Linked DNA regions of Homo sapiens: region 2 is linked to region 1. The links are contacts of gene promoters, found by promoter capture Hi-C in human tissues and cell types (Jung and others, 2019). All regions are on one chromosome and are shown on one strand. Each heading gives the region's core, a stretch centred on a gene start or on the middle of the fragment in contact. The rest is flanking DNA. Distances are from core to core; before and after follow the strand shown. Region 1 holds the start of NT5M (5',3'-nucleotidase, mitochondrial). Region 2 has its middle 33 kb from the start of PEMT.

Evidence for each region. The method cuts DNA at HindIII sites, captures the fragments that hold promoters and counts their contacts. A contact is called where the count stands out against the background at its distance.
Region 2: a fragment that was not itself captured here is called in contact with the fragment with the promoter of NT5M in region 1 in 2 of the 25 tissues and cell types used here (bladder and dorsolateral prefrontal cortex).

The regions. Positions count from the first base shown.
Region 1 is chr17:17,301,346-17,306,165 of GRCh38, reverse strand. It overlaps NT5M (5',3'-nucleotidase, mitochondrial), which reads right to left and starts at 2,793. Exons shown (of 5, transcript NM_020201.4): 1 at 2,349-2,793. The coding sequence starts at 2,615. RefSeq lists silencers at 2,224-2,413, 2,544-2,643, 2,694-2,863. The HindIII fragment of the contact is 23,347 bases long and covers 1-4,820 here.
Region 2 is chr17:17,621,826-17,626,645 of GRCh38, reverse strand. No RefSeq gene overlaps it. Among named protein-coding and RNA genes, the nearest start is that of PEMT, 33 kb to the right of the region's middle. RefSeq lists enhancers at 1-21, 22-927, 3,064-3,939, 3,940-4,814. The HindIII fragment of the contact is 8,811 bases long and covers 1-4,820 here.

The DNA of each region.
Region 1 (4,820 bases), core at 1,544-4,043:
CTTAAACTTGAGAACTGGAGGGACTCAGAGATCTTTAAGGTGCCATGAGGGACAAGGGGGAGGGGGAGACAGGGTAAAAGGACAATTCAGGGAGCTCGAGGATCCTCCCCACATTAACCAGAAGAGCTCTGCTTTTATCGGTTTTATATGTTGAGGTGCCAATAAGTACATTTTTAAAAAAAGGATTCTGCTGCTTTTAGAGTTGCAAAGCAAAAATGCAGACCCTCATTTTACATGTCAGAAAACTGAGGCTCAGAACGGGGAAGAGATCCACCTGATGTCACACAGCAAAACAGCAGCTGAGCTGGGAGAAGAACCCCCAACACCAACCCTCTCCTCCCCACTCCCCAACCCCCGCTGCCTTTCTCCTTCCCCTGTTCTGCTGCAGGGCCAGAATGCAGCACCTTTTCTAGGGTCAGGCAAGGGGAAAGTGACAACCAGAGGGGAGACACATCTCAGCCTATGAGCAGGAGCCTAAATCCCACGTGTGCAGTACAGGAAGTGCCTCTACCAGCTGTTCTGCACACTACAGAAAGACAGCCACCCTGTCACATGGACGGCCGGAGGATGCCCTGACAGCATACCAGCAACACTCTCAGGAACCACAGGGACTAGGCAAATGCGTGCTTATTACTGAAACACATTTGATCCTCACATCCCACATAGGGTACTGTGAAGACCAAAGGGAATACAGACAGAGCAGAATTTTGAAAAGTAGAAATGCCTACATACACATAAGGAGCCACGTGTGTGGGGGCGGGGGGGGGGGGGCGGTTGTTTTAACCACAGATACTGGGCCAGCTTGGGGTAGGCCCAGGGATGTCCACAGCAGCAAGCCGTGCCTCAGGAAGGGAAGTAGTGGAAGCCAGCAGATTACTCCCAAGGCACCCTCCTTACTGCCCCGTGCCTTTGCCTTGTGCTTGGAAACCAGTAACCCCACACGTACAGAGCCTACATATTTGCACAAAGAACTGGAAAAGCTGCTGCACTTTTCGGAGTTGGGGGTGGGCTTGGTTTCCACGTTAATACACTCCCGGGCGGATATATGGTGTCCAGACTCCCCATGCCGAGCGCTGCCTATAAATGAACACTCGCCACACACTGGAGCCTATTCCTGAGGCTGCAGAAAGTACCAGGGCATTTTCTCCAGTTTAAAGTTTATCATTAGGCATCCGCTGTAGAAGAGCTCAGCACACTGGGCTCTGTGAAAGTCACCTTCTGAAGTGCCTGGTGTTGATGGAGACAAACGGTACTTGGTTTCCTTTTTTAACACCTGTCCCTCAACAAACCACATTACTGATGAGGCATCTTTCTGATGTCAGAAGAAATGTCACTTGTTAGAGACAGTAGTACAGAGAACAGGACTGTGGAGTGGGGAGCACTAACTGTGCTTGGGAGGCAGACAGACTTGGGTTTGAGTCCTGACTGAGCCCCTGAGCAGCATGTGACTTGGGGCAAGTTTCCTCATCTGGAAAACAGAGATAATAATATCTACCCAACAAAAGAGAGGATGCAGTGAACTTGTGGCTAAAAAACGGGCTCTTGTAACTTCCTTCTCCTCTTTATCAAACCCTCCAGCAGCAACCCTAGGTGGCCAATCAAGGGATGCCAAAAAACACTCAGCCTCTTTAATTTTGTGCATACCAAAATCCCCTGTTCCTTTTGCAAAATACTTCAAATTTACCAACCAAGATCTGTGTGTAAACGTCCCTCCTTGGATCTTTCCCCTCTATCCATCCTGGACAGAACACCTCGGGAGTCGGATGGTAGGGGTTGAGCTCAGGTGTTCAGCAAGGCCAGCTCTGCAAGGGGATAAGACATGAGGTGGATCCCACCTCACCTGGACCACTGACTCACTGTGTGACCCCCAGAAAGTCACACAACCTCTCTGGGCCTCAAATACCCCTGGAAGCTATGCTTTCATGGACAACAGTAAAAAAGATGGGTAAAGACACCCATCAAAGTCCTGGGGACAAAGAAGTGGGAATGTGACTGCGGTCGGGGTGAAAGAGGACAACTTATAACGTTTATTTTTCTAAAAATTTAACAAACGACTTGAGGCCAAATATGCCACAAATTTTGAAGTCAGCTTTAAATGCAGAGTTAGGTATATTAACACTTTGTACTCTCCCGCATTTTCAGAAACCTTGGATGGCAGCCAACAGATCCTGAGCGCGGGGCCGCATCTTCCCGGTGCGCTGTGGCCCCTAGTCCCCCCCAGACCCTATTCTATCAGAGGGCCACCCCGAGGCTGGGGCGCTGACCGTCCAAGGTCACCGGCGCAGGGGCGGTGTCTGGGGCTCGGGGCGAGAAGGAGGCCCGGCGCGGGGCGGGGCGGGGACGCTCACGCTCAGCCCTGGCCGCAGGCGGCCGTACTGCTCCGACACCCAGAAGCCGCGCCGGTCCTCCAGCGCGATGAAGGGCTGGTCGGGAAAGCGCGCGCGGAACTTCCTGAGGAATCCGCCCTCGAAGTCAGCCAGCACGCCGTCCATGTCCACCAGCACCCGTAGGGCGCGGCCTCCCGCCAGGCCCAGCCCGCCCGCCGCCCCGCGCCGCCCCGCGGGAACCGCCGCGCTGCAGAGCCGCCGCGCACACCAGCCGCCCAGCCGGATCATGGCCCAGCGCGCTGGCCCGTCGTGGGCGCGGGGACCTGGGCCGCGCCGTGCTGCCGGAGCCGGCCAGACATTCCCGCCGCGGAGGAGAAGCCCCCAACGCTGGGGCGCGCGTGGAGCGCGGGACGGGGAGCGGGGCGGGGAGCGCGGGGTGCGGGCGCGCAAGTACCGGCCCCAGAGCGAGGCCGCGGCGCGCGCGGTCCCTAAAGGAACACGCGCCGGCGGAGGCGGAGCCCCGGGGCGGGGCTTCGAGGACGGACAGCGGTAAGCGCCGCGCGCCTCCAGAAGGTCCGCGCTCCCGCGCTGTCGATTTGCGTCTTCTCCGTGGACCCTGGGCCCGGGCTGCCTTCTCCCACTGCACAGACTACCATGGAGGAGCAGTGCAAACCGAGAAGCAGGCCTGTGTCGTTAGACATTTTTGAGCACTAACTGTGTCGAGTGTGAACCAAATAGACAAAGTTCCTGCCATCCTGGAACTTACGTTTTAGAAGGGGATCCAGACAACAGGATGGAGGAACAAAAACAGGGTGCACTCTGAAAGCCTCTCTGCTTTATTTACAGCAAATGTCTGCGGAGAGACTGATAGAACCAATATCTGCTAACATCATACAGCCTTAGTAAAACTGATGATTCTCAGGTAAATATATGAATAAATATTAAGTACCCCTGTATTGCTTTTTTTTTTTTTTTTTTTTGGAGACGGGGTCTTGCTCTGTTACCCAGGGTGGAAGCAGTGGCATGATCTCGGTTCCCTGCAGCCTTGAGTTTCTGGGCCCAAGGGATCGTCCTGCTTCTGCCTCCTGAGTAGCTGGGACCACAGGGGCCTGCCACCACACCCTGGTAATTTTTTTTTTTTTTTTTTTTTTTTTGAGACAGGAGTCTTCCTATGTTGGGCTCAAACGATCCTCCCACCTCAGCCTCCCAAAGTGCTGGGATTACAGGCGTGAGCCACCGCGCCCGGCCTCTTTTCAACTTTTAAGTACAGGGATACATGTGCAGATTTGTTATATAAATTGACTGTCTTGGGGGTTTAGTGTACAGATTATTATTACCCAGGTAATAAGCGTAGTTCCTGATAGGTAGTTTTTCCATCCTCACCCTCCTCCCACTCTCCACCCTCAAGTAGGTCACCGTGTCTGTTGTCCCCATCATTACGTCCATGTTTACTTAATGTTTAGTTCCCGCTTTTAAGTGAGAGCATGAGGTATTTAATTTTCTGTTCCTGTGTTTGCTTAGGATAATTGTCTCCAGCTCCATCCATATGGCTGCAAAAGACATGATCTTATTCTTTTTTTATGACTGTGAAGTATTCTATGGTATATATGTACCACATTCTCTCCCTTTTTTTTTTTTTTTTCTTGATAGGGAGTCTTGCTCTTGTTGCCCAGGCTGGAGTGCAGTGGCAGGATCTCGGCTCACTGCAACCTCCACCTCCCAGGTTCAAGCGATTCCCCTGCCTCAGCCTCCCAAGTGGCTGGGATTACAGGCGCCCACCACCACACCCAGCTTTTTTGCATTTTTAGTAGAGACAGGGTTTCACTATGTTAGCCAGGCTGATCTCCAACTCCTGACCTTGTGATCTGCCCGCCTCGGCCTCCCAAAGTGCCGGGGTTACAGGTGTGAGCCACCGCACCCGGCCGATTTTTGTATTTTTAGTAGAGACAGGGTTTCACCATGTTGGCCAGGCTGGCCTCAAACTCCTGACCTCAGGTGATCCGCCCCACCCCCCTCGGCCTCCCAAAGTGCTGGGATTAAAGGCGTGAGCCACTGCACCCAGCCTGTGTTACAGCTCTTTTAGCCCCACCATTTGGCAGGTCCCGAGTTCTTGTCCTGCATCCAGGAAGAATGGGGTAGGCAGACAAGTGGAGAGTGAGCAAGACGAAGAGGAGCTTTATTGAGCAACAGAATACTTCAGAAGAGACCTGCAGTGGGCAGCTCCTCTCCATAGCCAGGGTTTCCCCACAAGTGTTCAGCTTTCAGCAGAGAGGGTAGCTCCTCTCTGGTAGGCAGTTCATCCCAACAAGTGTCCAGCTCTCAGCAGAAAGGGTAGTTCCTCTCTGCAGCTGGTTTTCTCCCCATCTACCCGTCCTCTCTTTGAGTCTGGCTGAGTCCAGGGTTTTTTATGGACCTCAGAGGGGAAGAAGTGAGTGCTGATTGGTCCATGGGCGGCCATAGGTGGCCATGAGCAGGCCTGGGGAAAAGCACCAC
Region 2 (4,820 bases), core at 610-3,109, 320 kb before region 1:
CCGGGAGCACAGGCAGTTGCAGGGGAACTTCCCAGCTCCCGAAGCCTCCTCGCAGCCAAATGGGAAGTTGTTTCCCATGTCTAAATACCCAGTAGATGTGTCACTCTTGAGGGTTCACCCGTACCCCAGCCCTGACTGGCAATCCCCCGAATGGGGCATCCCTGTCCAATAGGACTCCCAGCCCCCGCCCGATCCCAGGATGAGAGGCGAAACTTGAGGCAGCCCACAGCATTGCTGCCATTGATTTGGGAGAACAAAAGATCTGAGGCTCTGGCGGTGGAAATGCAGGCAGAGTGCAAGATCACCTGCAGGGCCTCTCTGCCCTGCCGGAGTGGCCTTCAAATCATCACAGCGGGTGGCTTGGCAAAGGCGGGTGAGGGAGGTGGTGCGAGGCCTACGGAAGTGCTGGGGCCTCTGTGAAGCTGGGTGCTCCAGGCTTCCTGTCCTGTCTGAGAGAACCGGGAGGATGGCTCCTCTGCCTCCTGCAGCCCTCAAATCCCTGTTTCCTCATCTGCGCCAGAAAAGCACCATGGGGTAAGCCAGAGTGAAGAGGGAGGCAGGGCAGGGGTGGCACTGCCTCCCACCATCAAAGGCCACCTGCTTGGCGGCTGGACTTCTCTGGGTGATGAAAATATGACTGTTTATTATTATATCCTTTTTTTTTTTTTGCATTTTAGATATTGTTCTTAAAAAAAAAAGGAATAAAAGAATCAGTGAGACATGGTGGCCTAGGATGGGTATTTAGAGAAGGATTTGAAACCTGATTAGGGCCAGTGCAGTGGCTCACACCTGTAATCCCAGCACTTTGGGAGGCTGAGGCAGGTGGATCACCTGAGGTCAGGAGTTTGAGACCAGCCTGGCTAACATGATGAAACCCCGTCTACTAAAAATACAAAAAATTAGCCGGATGTTGTGGCAAGTGCCTGTAATCCCAGCTACTCGGGAGGCTGAGGCAGGAGAATCACTTGAACCCGGGAAGTGGAGGTTGCACTGAGCTGAGATCATCGCGCCATTGCACTCCAGCCTGGGCAACAAGAGTGGAAACTCCATCTCAAAAAAAAAAAGAAAAAAAATGAAACTTTGTTTGGAGTGTGTATGTGTGTGTGTGTGTGTGTGAATATGTGAGTGGGTGTAAGTTTCTCCCCTCATCTCCCTAAGGATGGGCCAGGGACTCTATACATGCCCCTCTGTCCCTTCCAGCAGCCCTGAGAGGTCAGCCTTCTAGTTCCCACTTAGCAGAGGAAAAAGCAGAGGCTGAGAGAGGTAAAGTGACTTGCCCAAAGTCCTACAGTCAGCCAGCCAGTGGCACCGCTGAGATTCAAACCCAGGTCCGGGGCTCTTGAGACCTGCTCCGTGGAGCTGCTGGAGAGAGGTCCTGTTTGCACAATCCCAGAGGGAGTCGTGCCCACTGCCGATGCCTGGTGTGTAGTGCACTGCCCCTGGGGACCAAGGTGGCAGCCCTAGAAGGCCTGTCCACTGGCCCCAAGGCCAAATAAAGTAGGGTGGTCTGCCTGGCCTAAGAGGAGCCAGGCCTTTCCCATGTGCATGACAGGGGAGGCGGCAGTGAGGGGAGGGTGGTGGCCTTAATCCTGGAGAGACCTCCCAGTGCCTGGAATATGTGAAGACAGCACGACATGGGTGGCCGTCTTGCGGCGAACCAGCTGCGTGTACCTTGTTGCTGACATTTCCCTTGCCAAGCTTTTCTTCTCATAAAGAAAACACAGGATGTGTAGTGACTCTGGCCGCTGTGTTTAAATGCCAGAGTTCACTTGACCTTCAGAGGCCACGAAAGCTGACATATTTCTCACAAACTTCCCTATCTCTTCTCAAGGGAGCTCCTTTACTTAGAAACACAGCAACTTCATGATGACCCTGACTGCCCGGCACCAGGCACCACTGCACAGATTGTATACTGCCTGACTTCAGGGAAGATGTCAGTCATGTCCAAGTCTGTATAAATATACTCCTTTTGGGTTGTGCAGTGTCCAACCTGTGCAACTGTGCATTTTGGCCCTGTGGCCCTAGAAACATTTCCACTAATTAGGCAGGTGAATGGGTTCCTTAAAGTTTTTTGTTTTGTCTTTTTTTTTTTTTTTTTTGGAGATGGAGTCTTGCTCTGCCACCCAGGCTGGAGTGCCGTGGCATGATCTCGGCTCACTGCAACCTCTGCCTCCAGGTTCAAGTGATTCATTCAGCTTCCCAAGTAGCTGGGACTATAGGCGCATGCCACCACACCTGGCTAATTTTTGTATTTTTAGTAGAGATGGGGGTTTCATCATGTTGGCCAGGCTGGTCTCGAACTCCTGACCTCAGGTGATCCCCCCGACCTCGGCCTCCCAAAGTGCTGGGATTATAGGCGGCGTGAGCCACCGCATCCGGCCTGGTTCCTTAAAGTTTTGAGTGAGCTGGTGTGCTCATCTTCTTGCTGATATACATCCTACTGAGCAGAAGAAATTGACCTGTTGTTCCCACCAAAAGAACCTGGAGGTGTATGACCCATGGCCCACCATCCTTGATGAGCACTGTGCCTGTCACTTGCCCCACCACCCACTCCGATGCTCACATTCCAGTGGGTGCAGGCTTGGCTTGTGCTAAAAGTTTGTGCAGCAGCACCTCCCCCGTACTCTCAATTCTTGAGTGGACTTTTGACTGATCCCCTGCCATGGCGCTGCCCCGCTCACAGTCTCCACCACCTCACATTGGCACCCCCATTGTCCCACTTGCTCAGGCCTGAAACCCGAGTCCTCCCCACTCCTTGCAATCCCTCATCCCCCCCTGGCCCAGTCGCTGCAAATCCTGGGGGCGATGCCTCCATGATCCCTCCAGATCGCCTCTTCTCACCATCCCGCTCCTACGGCCTAGCCCCCCAGCACGTCCCACCTAATGGTGCCTTAACCATGCCCAACTACGGGCCCTTCTCTACGAGAGGCTTTAAGAAATTAAATCAGGCCAAGCACAGTGGCTCATGCCTGTAATCCCAACACTTTGGGAGGCCCAGGCGGCCAGATGGCCTGAGGTCAGGAATTTGAGACCAGCCTGCTCAACATGGTGAAACCCTGTCTCTACTAAAAATACAAAAATTAGCCGGGTGTGGTGTCAAGTGTCTATAATCCCAGCTACTCCAGAGGTTGAGGCAGGAGGATCACTTGAACGTGAGAGGCGGAGGTTGCAGTGAGCAAGATCTCACCACTGCACTCCAGCCTGGGCGACAGAGTGAGACTGTGTCTCAAAAAAAAAAAAAAAAAAAAAAGGCTGGGCGCTGTGGCTCATGCCTGTAATCCCAGCACTTTGGGAAGCCGATGAGGGTGAATCACCTGAGGTCAGGAGTTCGAAAGTGAAACCCCGTCTCTACTAAAAATACAAAAATTAGCTGGGTGTCATGGCACACACCTGTAATCCCTGCTACTCGGGAGGCTGAGGCAGGAGAATCACTTGAACCCAGGAGGCAGAGGTTGCAGTGAGCCAAGATAGTGCCATTGCACTTCAGCCTGGGCGACAGAGTAAGACTCTGTCTCAAATAAATAAATAAATAAATAAAAAGGGAATAAATTAAATCAAAATAAGCCAGACACAAAAGGCCACAGATTGGATGATTTCATTTGCATGAAATGTCCAGGCCAGGCACAGTGGCTCATGCCTGTAATCCCAGCACTTTGGGAAGCTGAGGCGGGTGGATTGCTTGGGCACAGGAGCTCGAGACTAGCCTGGGCAACATGGCAAAGCCCTACTCTATCAAAAATACAAAAAAAATTAGCTGGGCATGGTGTCCTACACCTGTGGTCCCAGCTCCACCAGGAGGCATCTCTTGAGCCCAGGAGGTTAAGGCTGCAGTCAGCCTTGATTGTGGCACTGCACACCAGCCTGGGTGACAGAGCAAAACCCTGTCTCAAAAAAAAAAAAAAAAGTGGCCAGGCATGGTGGCTCACGCTTGTAATCCCAACACTTTGGGGGACCGAGGCAGGCGGATCACTTAAGGCCAAGAGTTCGAGACCAACCTGGCCAACATGGTGAAACCCCGTCTCTACTAAAAATACAAAAGTTAGCCAGATGTGGTAACAGGCACCTGTAATCCCAGCTACTTGGGAGGCTGAGGCATGAGAATCGCTTGAACCCAGGAGGCAGAGGTTGCAGTGAGCCGAGATCACGCCGCTGCACTCCAGCCTGGTTGACAGAGCAAGACTCTGTCTCAAACAAACAAACAAAAAAAGAAACAACAAAGAAATGTCAGAAACAGACAAATTCACGGATGCAATGCAGGGGGAGGGGAAGTGGCCAGTGACTGCTTAATGTGTCTGGGGTTTCCTTTGGGGGTGGTTCTGGAGCTAGATAGAGGTGGCAGTTGCACGACATTGTGAAGGTACTCAATGACACTGAATGGTGCACTTTTAAGTGGTTACAATGGCAAATTTCATGTTATGTGTATTTTACCCCAATAAAAACAAGCAAAATTAAATCACACCATGTCTGATAAAAACCCTCACTGACTCCTCAAAGACCCTAACAATAAACCCACCTTCCTGGGCACGGCCCATTGACGCCAGCACCATCCAGCCCTGGTGGGCTTGGTCCTCATCTCCCTTCATTTGTCCTCTGTCCTTTGAATACTCCCCCACCATGCCCTGTCCCTCCTCTGCAGCTTTGCACTGGCTGTCCCTTCCCACAGACCCTCTGGGGCTGCCTCTCCCTCCCCCAGTATCCTCCCCGTCCACACCTCCCTCCTGCGCCGCTTCCCATCCATCTGCTCGATGTAATTCAGAGCACCTGACTCTACTTGAAATGATTGTGTTTATTAACTTTATTTGCCAATCATCTTTTTTGGG